Regions from separate parts of the Homo sapiens genome. Here all the other regions are linked to region 2. Evidence: promoter capture Hi-C in 16 types of primary human blood cells and fetal thymus (Javierre and others, 2016). All regions are on one chromosome and are shown on one strand. Each heading gives the region's core, a stretch centred on a gene start or on the middle of the fragment in contact. The rest is flanking DNA. Distances are from core to core; before and after follow the strand shown. Region 1 overlaps NIPSNAP3A (nipsnap homolog 3A). Region 2 holds the start of TAL2 (TAL bHLH transcription factor 2). Region 3 overlaps ABCA1 (ATP binding cassette subfamily A member 1).

Region 1 (4,488 bases), core at 1,542-4,041, 900 kb before region 2:
GCTATGTTTCTTGCATTATGAAGGCTACATCTGTGCTTTGTAAGTACCACTTCAAAAAATAGTTCTGTTTACTTTCTGCATGGTATTTCAGTGTCTGTCATACATTAAAAATACTTGTCACTGTTTTAAGATCTTGACTCTTCATTTGTTTCAGAATAGCTCTTCTACTGTATTCTGACAACTCTTTGCTTTATAGCATTTTGTTGTATTCAAATGATAATGGTAGCATTTCCATGCTTGTGACAGCATTTTTAAGTTATTAATATATTTTATCAACCTTTCCATCATGTCTGTTTTCCTGGTTTTTTTTGGTTGTTTTTTGACCAGTAAAATTTATTTTGTAATACCAAATAGGATTTAAGAAAATTAACGTATTTCTTTACTATGGAAAACCACATTGTCATTTGTGACATCATCTATATTAAATATGGTTTTCACATTAGTTATTTGTCACTTACTTGGAAAATGATGCTGTTAGGTCCTGGTATTAAAAATCTAGAAAAGACTTGTTGGTTTATGTGCTGAAATGTCTTTATTTATAATTAATTTTAACTACTATTTACTTCATTTCGGATCCTGTTTAACAAAGATACTTGAGACATCCATTTGTTTTAATGAAATCTGTATGGATATGGAAATGCTTGCCCTAATAAAAGCCTACATATACCTTCTGGTTCTTTTTGTTGAGTTTTATATATTTATCTTTTCTGAAGCTATTGCTGTATTGCTATAAGGTAATGAGACAATACCAATTTACCGTCTTTACTGTAAATATTAAGTTACCTCAAGAAAATTGTATCCCACTAACCCCAGAATCAGAGTTTCTTTAGTACTGTCACAGATGTGGTAGTGTTTTCCTACAAACAACTTTAATTTTTAATTGAGTGCTTCCTATTAAAGTAGATTTGGTACTTCCAAGACTATGAAATCTATATTTACAGCTATGTTATTTTTACATTTCTATGTTATTTTATATTTTTATTTTACACTGCTATTACATATAGCAAAGATAGTAAATTATGAATTAGCCATCTGAGGGAAATTGGAAAAGCAGAAAGTATAGTAACCCCTCATTTATCTAGCTCCCAGGGATTCAAAGGACAGATGAGTTTCCTACTAAGGCAAAGAAGACCCAACACTGGAGGTAAAAACTTATCACGGAAGTTAGAGGCATTGGCTCTGAGTTTTGTCTAAGAGTCTTCCATCTCAATGTTTATTTGGAAAGTTTTCACTCAGGAAATTTAAGCATCTAGAGTTTACATGTACAACTGCTGTCCTCCTACCCAGTTGGGCCAGCACTGGATACACCTCTCCTGCTTTTGCATGAGCCTGACCTTTAAAAAAAAAAAAAAACATGCAAGAACATCATCAAGTAGATTGTTCCCTTTGCCCACTTCTTGTAATTCCCACCATCCTTCAGCTAATACTTATTTGTTATGAGAGGTGTAAAAATGCATCTTCACACTCATCAGATCAGATGGGCAATAATAAGAAATTGGTCAGGAAAACCTCATACACTGCTATTAAGAATATACATTTATAGAACAGTTTGGCACGATTTAATAAAGATGAATATATACATAACTTATGACCCAGCAATTCCATTCCTAATTATATACTCTAGAGTAGTGGTTTGTAACCTCTAGTACACAAATCCTGAAGGATAGAATTCAGAGTCTGATAACTTGGATAGGTAAAAGTTCCATCTTTATTGGCACCAACTTCTAAGCATTTCCTTTGTTTGTGAAGGTAGGCAACAAACCACAATATTATTAGCAGGACCTGCAACTTTTTAGTCAGTAAAAATCACAGATACTGTCAAATTCTATTTATAGTTGTTGCAAATACAGAAAATTTATTTTACCTTCATCACTACTTCAAAATTATTATACCTCTTACACCTACCATTAGATATTGTTATTTAATATCTTATAAAGAATAGGTCTATTTCTTTATCAAGAATTTGCTTTTAGCAGTCCTAAGCAAAAAGAACAAAGCTAGAGGCATCACACTACCAGCCTTCAAAATATACTATAAGCTATAGTAACCAAAACAACATGGTACTGGGATAGAAACAGAAACAGACCAATGGAACAGAATATATAACCCAGAAATTAATCCATACATCTACAGCCAACTGGTTTTTGACAAAGGTGCCAAGAACATACACTGGGGAAAAGACAGTCTCTTCAATAAATAGTGCCAGGAAAACTGGATATCAATATGCAGAAGAGTGAAACTAGACCCCCACCTCTCACTCTATACAAAAATTCAGTTCAATGGGTCAAAGAGCTAAGTGTAAGACCTGAAACTAAAAGTACTAGAAGAAAATATAAGGGAAATGCTTCCGGACATTGTCTGGGAAAAAGTTTTATGAATAAGATTTCAAAAGCACAGACAACAAAAGCAAAAATAGATTATGTCAAACTAAAAAGCTTCTGCACAGCAAATGAAAAAATCAACAGAGTGAAAAAACCACCTATAGAATGGGAAAAAATAATTGCAAACTATTCATCTGACAGGGATTCATATCCAGAATATACAAGAAACTCAAACATCTCACCAGCAATAAAAACCAAACAAATCAATTTAAGAATGGGCAAATGATCTGAACAGACATTTCTCCAAAGGAGACATACAAATAGCTCACAAATACATGAAAAATGTTCAACATCACTCATCATCAGGGAAGTGAGGTATTATCTCACCCCAGTTAGGCTATTATCAAAAAGTCAAAAAACAAAGCTGATGAGGATGCAGAGAAAAGGAAAATCGTATACACTGTTGGGAATGTAAACTCTTAGAACTACTATGGAGAACACTATGGAGTTTCCTCAAGAAACTACAAATAACCCACTACTGAGCATTATCCAAAGGAAAAGAAATCAGTATATCAGAAAGACATCTTCCCTCCCCCATGTTTATTGCAGCACTGTTCACAATAGCCAAGATACAGAATCAGCCTAGGTGTCCAGCAAGATTAATGGATAAAGAAAGTATGTTATATATACACAATGGAATACTATTCAGCAGTAAAAAGGAATGAAATCCTGTCCTTCACAGCAACATGGCTGGAACTGGTGGATATTATGTTAAGTGAAATATGCCAACAAGAGAAAGTTGCACACCACATGTTCTCATTAATGTATAAGCTTTAAAAAAAGTTGATTTCAGAAATAAAAAGTATAACAGGATTCTAGAGGATGGGAAAGATTAGGAGGAAGACAAGGATGGGAGAGATTTGTTAAACAAAATTATAGCTAGATAGGAGGAATAAGTTCTAGTGCTCTATACCACTTCAGGATAACTATAGTTAATAATATATAGTTTCAAATTGCTAGGAGGATATTGAATGTTCTCAACACAAATGATAAGCCCCCGGGGGAGTGGCTTCTGTGAGACCTAAATCCTCATCTGCCACAGAAGGAAGGCAACACATACTCTCCATAACTGAAAATGCAAGAAATAGCAGAAAATGACTATTATTTAAAAATACGGGCCAGGCGCAGTGGCTCGTGCCTGTAATCCCAGCACTTAGGGAGGCTGAGCCGAGAGGATCACCTGAGGTCAGGAGTTCAAGACCAGCCTGCCCAACATGGTGAAACGCCGTCTCTACTAAAAATAGAAAAATTAGCCAGGTGTCGTGGCGTGCGCCTGTAATTCCAGCTACTCAGGAGGCTGAGGCAGGAGAATCTCTTGAAACCGGGAGGCGGAGGTTGCAGTGAGCCAAGATCATGCCACTGCACCCCAGCCTGAGCGACAGAGCAAGACTCTGTCTCAAAAAAATAAAAAACATACGGAAACAGGTATTAGAAGAACAGCTTAAAATGTTGAAGGTGGTTAGTCTGGGGACCAGTACTCTGGGACTGGGAGGACTAGACCAGAGGTCGGCTGTTTTGCTCTTAAGGCTTACAGAACGATCTAGTTTCAAACTATCTATGTTTAACTTCGACTTTTTCCTATCAGGCTCGGTGCTGCTATTCCACTGAGCTCATGGAAAATTAAATCTTTATTAGGAGCCTTCCAAGATCACAGTGGGGTGGCAATGGGGACAGATAATGCAGAAAAGCGAAGGCTCACTGGTCTACAAATACACGTCTATCACAACCTGTAAAAGTTAACCCTGTCCCAGCCTGGCCAATATGGTGAAACTCCGTCTCTACTAAAAAATACAAAAATTAGCGGGGCGTGGTGGCGGGCGCCTGTAGTCCCAGCTACTGGGGAGGCTGAAGCAGGAGAATGGCGTGAACCCGGGAGGCGGAGCTTGCAGTGAGGCGACATCGCGCCAGTGCACTCCAGCCTGGGCGACAGAGCAAGACTACGTCTCAAACAAAGAAACAAGTTAACCCTGTCAACATCTCGACTTTAAATGCAAAGCACTGCACATGCACACGCTGAACACCTCCCCTTCCTTCTCCAGGGGCAACACAAGCACAACCGCCGCACATTTACGAATCTACACAACTGCGCATCGGAGCGAATGAGGTC
Region 2 (4,519 bases), core at 332-2,831:
TGAGTATAACCAACAGCCAAACCGGGGTTCTGGCCTTGGAGCCTGTGCTCTTGACCACCATGCATATGGTTCCACTGATGGCTGAGTTACGTGAAGACTCCTGTAGAGTCAGGGCTTGGAAAGGGAAGATCTCACCTGCTGTTTAAAGAAATAGGTAAGTAGAGAGTGGGGAGGAAATTCAAGGAACAGAAAATGACAATGTGCGAAAGTGTAGAGTTGGGAATATTCATGAGTCTTCGGAGGAACTAGAAAGGGCCCAGTGCCCAGAGGAGCTGAGCGTGGAGCAGGCAGCAGACCAATAGCAGTAAGCCAAGAACATCAAACTGCCTGGGGCTAGACTTGGGCTTGTTTGCCAGTGCCTCCCAAGTGTTCCTATTAGCACATGTTAATCCAAGCCACTTGAAAAAAGGGACTCTTGCCTCTAAGAGTGAAAAATGCCTGCATAATGCTCGGCAGTATGTGATGATAAACCACTCTCCTAGACTTGGAAAGGTCATCCAATGCAGCCCCAAAGAGGCCCAAGTATCTTCTACAGAATCCACGCCAAATCACCACTCCCACCTGCCCCTTGTCTTTTCATTTTTGCGAGACTAAATACCCCCACTTCTGTTCTTCATACACCAGGGTTTCAAGACCCTTCATCATTCTGTTCCTGCTCCTCTAAATATAGTCCAGTCTGGATATTTTAGTTCTTACAGAGAGGGGCTGAATCCTCCAGGTGAGGTCTGCCAGCTAACAAGAGAGCTGTATTGTCTTCTCTATTCCAAATTTTATTTTATTAACGAAACCTACAATCATTTTCTTTTTTTACTTCATTCTGATAATACATTGTTGATTCATATTCAACTCTCTGTTGGTGGCCGGGCATCGTGACTCACGCTTGCAATCCCAGCACTTTGGGAGGCCGAGGCGGGTGGATCACCTGAGATCAGGAGTTTAAGACCAGGCTGGCCAACATGGTGAAACCCCATCTCTACTAAAAATATAAAAACTAGCCAGGCGTGGTGGCAGGCGCCTATAGTCCCAGCTACTCCGGAGACTGAGGCAGGAGAATCGCTCAAACCCGGGAGCTGGAGGTTGCAGTGAGCTGAGATGGTGCCATGGCACTCCAGTCTGGGTGACAGAGTGAGACTCCATCTCAAAAAAAGAAAAAAACAAAAAACAAAAAACAAACTTTCTATTGGCCAAACATATGTTGCATTTATACATAAACTCAATCAATATTGTACCTGATTCTGAACAATTAGGAAGAGTTGGTTATAAAGGAAGAAACAGGAGTATTGGGACAAAGCAATCTTTCAACTGGAGGCTTCAAAACAGCCAGAGAGAAAAAGCTGAAGGGTGTTGTTCTTACCTTCCCCTGTTGTTTTTAAGTTAAAAAAAGAAATTATGCATAATTCATAGCGTCACTGATGCCTCGAAAGGTGAGAGGCATATGTTTGTGTCCCTGTGGGGTTGTTTTCTTTTTTAAAAACCTGAAAATGAGGAAATGAATCTCGTAAGCTCTGAGTCGAGAAAATCTAACATCTCAGGTTCTTGGCAGGACATGTGATACCAATCAGGCCTCTTATAAGATATTGGCCCTGAGGGCCCTTTCTCTTTCCATCTCAGGAACTCAAACATGACCAGGAAGATCTTCACAAATACCAGGGAGCGGTGGAGGCAGCAGAATGTCAACAGCGCCTTTGCCAAGCTGAGGAAGCTCATCCCCACTCACCCTCCAGACAAAAAGCTGAGCAAAAATGAAACGCTTCGCCTGGCAATGAGGTATATCAACTTCTTGGTCAAGGTCTTGGGGGAGCAAAGCCTGCAACAAACGGGAGTGGCTGCTCAGGGGAACATTCTGGGGCTCTTCCCTCAAGGACCCCACCTGCCAGGCCTGGAGGACAGAACTCTGCTTGAGAACTACCAGGTTCCTTCACCTGGTCCAAGCCACCACATTCCTTAGTGTGGCTCTGGCTGTCATCTCCCAGGGCAGCACTTGCCCAGAAATCACTGCCTGTGGACAGACTTTTGCATGTTCCAGAGTTGACCTGATGATAACTCGTGAAGCATGAATTCTAGCTTCCTGGGAGGTGGCTCAGAGACAGCTGCAGGGAGCTGAAAGAAGCCATGAGGAATGTCACTTGTGGGCCGCCACCCCCCAGGGATGTCAGGTAGAGCGGCCTACCTCTGCCTATTTTAAATCCAGGTTCTGCATAAGACTTTTGGAGAAAAAATTCTAAATAAAAAAAAAAAAAGGCTGAAAATCACTGTTTATACTCAATGTCTTCAGTTATAAGAAAGAAGTTTTCTCATAATGGATCTCAGATGAATAAGTAGAATATGCTTCCTTCAGAACATATTTTAAAGTTTGTTTTGAAAAATGAGATTTGATCAAGGGTGAACAAAATAAATCTTAAGATTGATGGGCCGGGCACGGTGGCTCACGCCTGTAATCCCAGCACTTTGGGAGGCTGAGATGGGCAGATCACCTGAGGTCAGGAGTTTGAGACCAGCCTGGCCAACATGGTGAAACTCCGTCTCTACTACAAATACAAAAATGAGCCAGGTGTGGTAGTGCGCACCTGTAATCCCAGATACTCAGGAGGCTGAGGCACGAGAATCGCTTGAACCCGGGAGGGGGAGGTTGCAGTGACCCAAGATCATGCCACTGCACTCCAGCCTGGGCAACGGAGCAAGACTCGCTCTCAAAAACAACAATAACAAAAAAAGTTTTCTCATAATGGATCTCAGATGAATGAGTAGCAGCATATGCTTCCCTCAGAACAGATTTTAAAGATGGTTTTGAAAAATGAGATGCATTTGATCAAAGGTGAACAAAATAAATCTTAAGATTGATGAATAGAAAGATAACCCCTGCAGAAACCAACCTGGGAGACTTGCGGGAAAAATCTGTGGAGAAAAGACACCCCCCGCCCCCCGCCCACTAAGGTGTGGGGATTACAGGAATGCAGCAGAGATATGTGGAACAGTTCTGTGTCCTTTCAACTCTGTAGAAGTGTGAGGTGCTACTTGTGCTGAGCCATTTGTACATATGTGACTTCTAAAGGCAAATAGTGGATTATATCTGTGAGACGAAACAACTGGATAATTTATGTGTTAGGGCTCGTAGTTTTCTTACGAAAAACAGTTAGCTGAAATAAGTTAGCTAAAGCCTTCACTTCACATGTCATGCATTAAAACGTTTCACTCAGCCTGAACTCCTGCTGATTCAAGACCTGTAAAATTCAATTATAATTATGAAAATCCAAACATTACCATTTAATGACTCATTTAACAGAGAGCTTAGTTTAAACAAAACATTTAGAGTAAACAATAGAAATGTAATACCAGACGCTAATGAACTAATGAATTTGTAATTTGTCTTCTTTGCTATGGCACATTAGCCTTCTCAAAAAGAAAAAAGTTTCTCATAATAGATCTCAGATGAATGAGTAGCATATGCTTCCCTCAGAACAGATTTTAAAGTTGGTTTTGAAAAATGAGATGTATTTGATCAAGGGTGATCAAGCTTAGTCTTAGGCTTGGAGGCCTGGTACCCAACAAGTCAGTGAAATAGCACGGATCTGGCAGAATCCATCACCATATGCCACCCTGATGATACTTGGAGTCAAAGATAAATCCTATAGTTGAACCTGGAATACAAATAATGTTATTTGATTATCTCTGGGACATTTTCCTTCCCCAAAGTTCTTGACAGTACATTGGTTTTAAAACCTTCTAAACCATACGTAGGAAACTGATGGATTTGAGATTAGGGATTTCCAGTATATACACAACAGAGGAATTTAAATTTCCTGCCACTCAGAAATAAGGTGTTTTACTTGTGAAAGGTTGAAATGAGCCTCCTTGGTCTGGTGATTGGAAGAAAGCTGGATGAAACTCTTACAATCTCATTCTCCCGAAATAGAAAGGTCATTATGTCATTAAATTCTATACAGCATTCACACTTGTAACACAATGCATTTATTTGAACCAGTAAGATTTCCTTCTAGGCCCTTTATTTAAACTGTATTTGGTAAACTTCCCCACGGACCCAGCATAGTCCAGGGAAACACATAAGAAAAGAGATCAAAATGGTTTTCCTGAATGTGCATTTTTTTTTTTCTCACTAGCTTATGTGGACACAAGCTTACCCCCAAATTACCAGGTGATAGTACATTTCAAAGTTTTGATGACAGTTGTCAATTAACATCACTTACTCTCTCATCTGAAATTAAATCAAAATAACACTTTTGACGGTATTTTTATATTAGCTTTGTTTCAACATGTTGCCAAGGAAAGCACAGAGTATCTCTTTGCCTAGATATAGGATTTTGCCCCTCTACCCAGGATGAGTCCACTTTTCTGCTGCTGGGGCCATGATCTGTGTCAAAGGGGGCCATGATCTTCGACAAAGAGGGCCTTTCCGCTGAAATGTAACAGAGTGCTCCTGAAAAGTCATGAGGAGATCAAGTTCTCATTAAACTATGTGAGGGGGAAATTATTTAAAGAAATTTGCAAATAATCCTATAAT
Region 3 (4,605 bases), core at 265-2,764, 800 kb before region 2:
ATTTGGCCTACCATGATTCCCATTAAGTTTTTGCTGACTGCCAGAGATACTCAAGCACACTTCAGTTCTACTCATTTCTTTAACTGGTCCTTGCTGCTAGGCTGTCAGCCTACAGTTAGTGTCTATGTTTAAGAATACTGACAACAGGCCGGGTGCAGTGGGTCATGTCTGTAATTCCAACACTTTGGGAGGCCAAGGCAGACGGATCACCTGAGGTCAGGAGTTCAAGACCAGTCTGGCCAACCAACATGGTGAAACCCCGTCTCTACTAAAAATACAACAATTAGCCAGGTGTGGTGGTGCATGCCTGTAATCCCAGCTACTCAGGAGGCTGAAGCAGAGAATCACTTGAACCTGGGAGGCAGAGGTTGTAGTGAGCTGAGATCACGCCACTGCACTCCAGCCTGGGTGACAGAGCGAGACTCCAACTCAAAAAAAAAAAAAAAAAAAGAATACTGACAACGGAGGGCCTTTGTTGATGTCATCTTCTGCCTCTGCCCAATCATGCTTTGTTCCCTTTCCTTTCCTTACACAAGTATTGATCCCAAGAATTTTTCAATAAATGTCTTGTATGCTCAAAAAAAAGAATACTGAAAATACAGAAACTCCAAGGACCATCCAAGGACCATCTCCATGCTTAGGATGCCCCTTATTTTAAACTGATTAGATGTGACAGATATGAAATTGGCAGGGGGCAATGGAAATTATGCTAAATGCAACTACTTTCAAAAGCCTGATGCCTTTGGCCCATCTCCTAACCACACAATTGGTAAACACAAGGCATATTTTCCTAGTTTCAGAAGGGCACGCAGTAAGCACATTTTTCTAATTTTAAAAATTCTAGATCATGTGAAGCAAAAAGCTTATTTTCAAGAATAAACATTTCCACTACTTCTGCTTCTTGTAAAGACAAGCTAGTATGCAGACACGAGATAGGGGAGGAAGCAGTTCCCCTTTCTGCCAGAGAATAAGCTCAAAAAGTGTCTCTGAAAAATCAATAACCATGCAAGCTGGGTCTGGTGCTACCCACTGCACAAGAGCTGTCTAATAATGATGCCAGAGGAAGTTTTCTATGATTCTAAAGTTAAAATTCAACATAAACACTAATATTATTTCCTGATTTTATAAAATTCTTTTTTTTTTTTTTTTTTTGAGATGGAGTCTCACTCTGTCAGCCAGGCTGGAGTGCAATGGCGTGATATTGGCTCACTGCAACCTCCGCCTCCCAGGTTCAAACGATTCTCCTGTCTCAGCCTCACGAGTAGCTGGGACTACAGGAGCATGCCACCACGCTGAGCTAATTTTCATATTTTTAGTAGAGACAGGCTTTGCCATGTTGGCCAGGATGGTCTCGAACTCCTGACCTCAAGTGATTTTCCCGCCTTGGCCTCCCAAAGTGCTGGGATTATAGACGTGGGATTACAGACCTTTGAAGTGATCTCGTCCATCCCACCTGAGCTTTGTGACACTAGTCCGTTCATTTCTGTTTCCCCAGTGCCATCTCACAGAGCTAAAATTGGAGAGATTTAAAGCCTTATTCCCACAAGCTGCAGGGACTGATCTCCTATTTAATGCAAAGCAAGCAACAGTTCTCAACTCAGTGCCACTGCGTCCAGCCCTTATTTTATAAAATTCTTAAAAGTCTCCAAATACACCCTTGTCTAAAGTCTCCTGTCCTCAATTTTTTAGACAGAGCTCCTCCAGATCAATAACCCTTAACCACGGTTATTGCCTCAGAACTGTGAATATTTTTTAAGTTTAACTCAACTTAAAATGTATCCCTTGTAGGAGGAAATCATCACAAATGCCAAGTGATAAGCCAGAAATCAATTTTATTTTAACCAGCTGGCCCATGACGCCAGGTTGCATATTCCACTCCTGGATGGTTTGGCAATTCCTGCCTGAATAGGGAAGTAAAATTAAGTGAAGTTGTATTCAAACTACCTCCCTCCCCTTCACCACCATTACAAGGACAAGGGTTTATTCATTTCTTTCCAGTAGCTGCACAACGTAATTGCCATCAGCCCTACTGAGGAAGCTGGAGGCATCAGCTTACCTTGTGGAGAATGACATCAGCCCTCAGCATCTTGTCCACAGTAGACTTTGGGAGAGAGAGGTTGTGATACAGGAACCCAGAGAAGGTTTCATTGTCCACCAGGAAATCTTGAAGCTTCAAGTCTATTGAGAAATAGTGTTTTATTTTTATTTAGTAAGTAACTCAAAAAAAAAAAAAAAGTGGGCACAATGGGACAGTGGAGAAACGTTATCATAATATTGATGATCAACAGTTGCCTGGCTAAACACACACAGGAATGAGATAGGGGAGCATCGCCATATCAGGAGAGGCATGAAAATATTGCTTTCTGGTAACATGTTGAGCCACACTCAGCATGTGCTCCTCAACTCAAACAGTGTGATGGTGCTGTTACACACACACACACACACACACACACATACACACACACACAGCCTTTCCTTTTCTTTTTTTTTTTTTATTTTGAGACGGAGTCTCACCCTGTCACCTAGGTTGGAGTGCAATGGTGGAATCTCAGCTCACTGCAACCCCCGCCTCCCGGGTTCAAGAGATTCTCCTGCCTCAGCCTCCCGAGTAGCTGGGATTACAGGTATGCATCACCATGACTGGCAAATTTTTTTTTTTTTATCTTTAGTACAGACAGGGTTTCACCATGATAGGCAGGCTGGTCTCAAACTCCTGACCTTGTGATCCAACCTGCCTTGGCCTCCCAAAGTGCTGACAGTACAGGCGTGAGCCACCATGCCCGGTCTTTCTCTTCTAAATGATCTCACCCACCCCACCTGAGCTTTGTGGCACTAGTCCGTTCATTCCTGTCTCCCCACTGCCTTTTCACAGAGCTAAAATTGGAGAGATTTAAAGCTTTATTCCCACAAGCTGCAGAGACTAATCTCCTGTTTAATGCAAAACAAGCAATGGTTCTCAAACTTAAGTATGCATCAGAATCACCTGGAGAGCTTGTTAAAATGCAGACTGCCGGGCCGGGCCGGGCCGGGCCGGGCCGGGCCGGGCCGGGCCGGGCCGGGCCGGGCCGGGCCGGGCCGGCCCCCACCCCCACCCCCACCCCCACCCCCACCCCCACCCCCACCCCCACCCCCAGAGTTTCTGATACAGCGGCCCTGGGATGCGACTGGAGAATCACTTACAGGTGATGCTGATGCTGCTGACCTGGGGACCATGTTTTGACAAACACTGGCAGAGTGCATTACGCATATCAAAGTGCCTTCACAGACATGGTCTCATTTTCATTCCAAACATAAAACATGTGATACAAAGCTCCAAAACCCAGGTCTGCCAGGCTTTAGGAAAACACATTAACATATATTTAAACCATCAGCCCTATTAAATGATTTGATTGCTAAAGGATTTCATACGGAATCTCCCTAAATAATAGGCCCTCTGAGTACAGTTAGAAAAGGCTTCAATCCAGTGCAACAAAACAGAAAAAGCAGCACTAAGAATCCAGAATTTTAGTTTCTAGAGTTGGAGGCTGTGTCTGGTGGCGTCCCTGCGTACCTCATGTCATCTTTCTGAACCTCAATTTCTTGATCTCCAAAATGAGAGGTTTCTGACCAGATGCTTGGTAGGAGCCCTATGACTCCGAAACAGTATAGTTTTCCCTGACTCATCTCATTTGGCTGTCTACCTCTTCTCCTTCCAACCCACTCTCCTAACAGCCTAACTTCTTTGTAATAAAGATAAAACCAGCTCATCAGGACCACATGAACTGAGCCCACATGGCCAGGCACTAAGCAACCTCTAGAGGGCAAACTTTGCAAACTGAAATCATTTACCAGAAGAGAAACAGGTTTGATCTGAAAATGGGGCTACAGTGTGAGGCTTAATGAGGACAGGAGTTAATCCGCGGAGCTAAGAGGGTCACATGCAGAGATAAAGTAACAGGAGGGCCTGACAGCCCAGCCAGTCTCTCATAAATGCTGTATGATCCAGGTGTATTCTGCTTTAGGCAAACTTCAGTAATATTGAGTTATATAGACAGAATAAATTGAGCAAGATTTACATCGCTAGAGAAATGATTCACTGCTACCCCTCTATGGCTAGCTCCTAGTTATTCCTCATGACAGCCAGTAGCTGTTCTTAGGCCCAGTTAGTGTCCCTCAGAATCAGTGCTCCTGCAAACTGCTACCTACCTGATGCTTCCCATCACATGTGACTCTACACTGTTAGCATTAGGCTCTCTACTGCAGTTGTCAAACCTCAGAGCACCTAAGCTTCATTTAGGGAGCATGCGAAAATGCAGTTTCTTGGGCCCAGTCCCCAGAGATTCTGAAATAGTGGGTCTAGAGTGCAGAGCCTACAAATCTACATTTGAATAAGCATCCCTTACACTTTTAATGTTGGGGGAGGGAGGTGTGGAACCACAGTTTAAGGAACATTGTTTTACTTGCATGTTGTCTCTACCAGACTATGCCTATAGGATAGGGAATATGCGTTCTTAGTACCACCAATGCCCAGATCAGGCCTGGCACAGAATTACTGCCCAGTGAAGGGTAGCTGAATACTAAACACTAGGAGATGGGATTAGGGCTGACAAGGTTCCAAAAGTATCT

Evidence for each region. Contacts are between HindIII fragments. The CHiCAGO score rates a contact against its expected background, and 5 or more counts as called.
Region 1: a fragment that was not itself captured here is called in contact with the fragment with the promoter of TAL2 in region 2 in 1 of 17 cell types (total B cells); the score reaches 5.3 in total B cells.
Region 3: a contact is called between a fragment that was not itself captured here and the fragment with the promoter of TAL2 in region 2, in 1 of 17 cell types (total B cells). The highest score is 8.1, in total B cells.

What each region holds. Positions count from the first base shown.
Region 1 is chr9:104,759,454-104,763,941 of GRCh38, forward strand. It overlaps NIPSNAP3A (nipsnap homolog 3A), which reads left to right. Exons shown (of 6, transcript NM_015469.3): 6 at 1-667. Among named protein-coding and RNA genes, the nearest start is that of NIPSNAP3B, 2.4 kb to the right of the region's middle. RefSeq lists a silencer at 4,405-4,488. The HindIII fragment of the contact is 717 bases long and covers 2,434-3,150 here.
Region 2 is chr9:105,660,876-105,665,394 of GRCh38, forward strand. TAL2 (TAL bHLH transcription factor 2) reads left to right here and starts at 1,582. Exons shown (of 1, transcript NM_005421.3): 1 at 1,582-2,249. The coding sequence starts at 1,622. The coding sequence ends at 1,948. RefSeq lists an enhancer at 1,609-1,698. The HindIII fragment of the contact is 4,889 bases long and covers 1-3,512 here.
Region 3 is chr9:104,859,623-104,864,227 of GRCh38, forward strand. It overlaps ABCA1 (ATP binding cassette subfamily A member 1), which reads right to left. Exons shown (of 50, transcript NM_005502.4): 6 at 2,057-2,178. Among named protein-coding and RNA genes, the nearest start is that of ABCA1, 66 kb to the right of the region's middle. The HindIII fragment of the contact is 1,308 bases long and covers 861-2,168 here.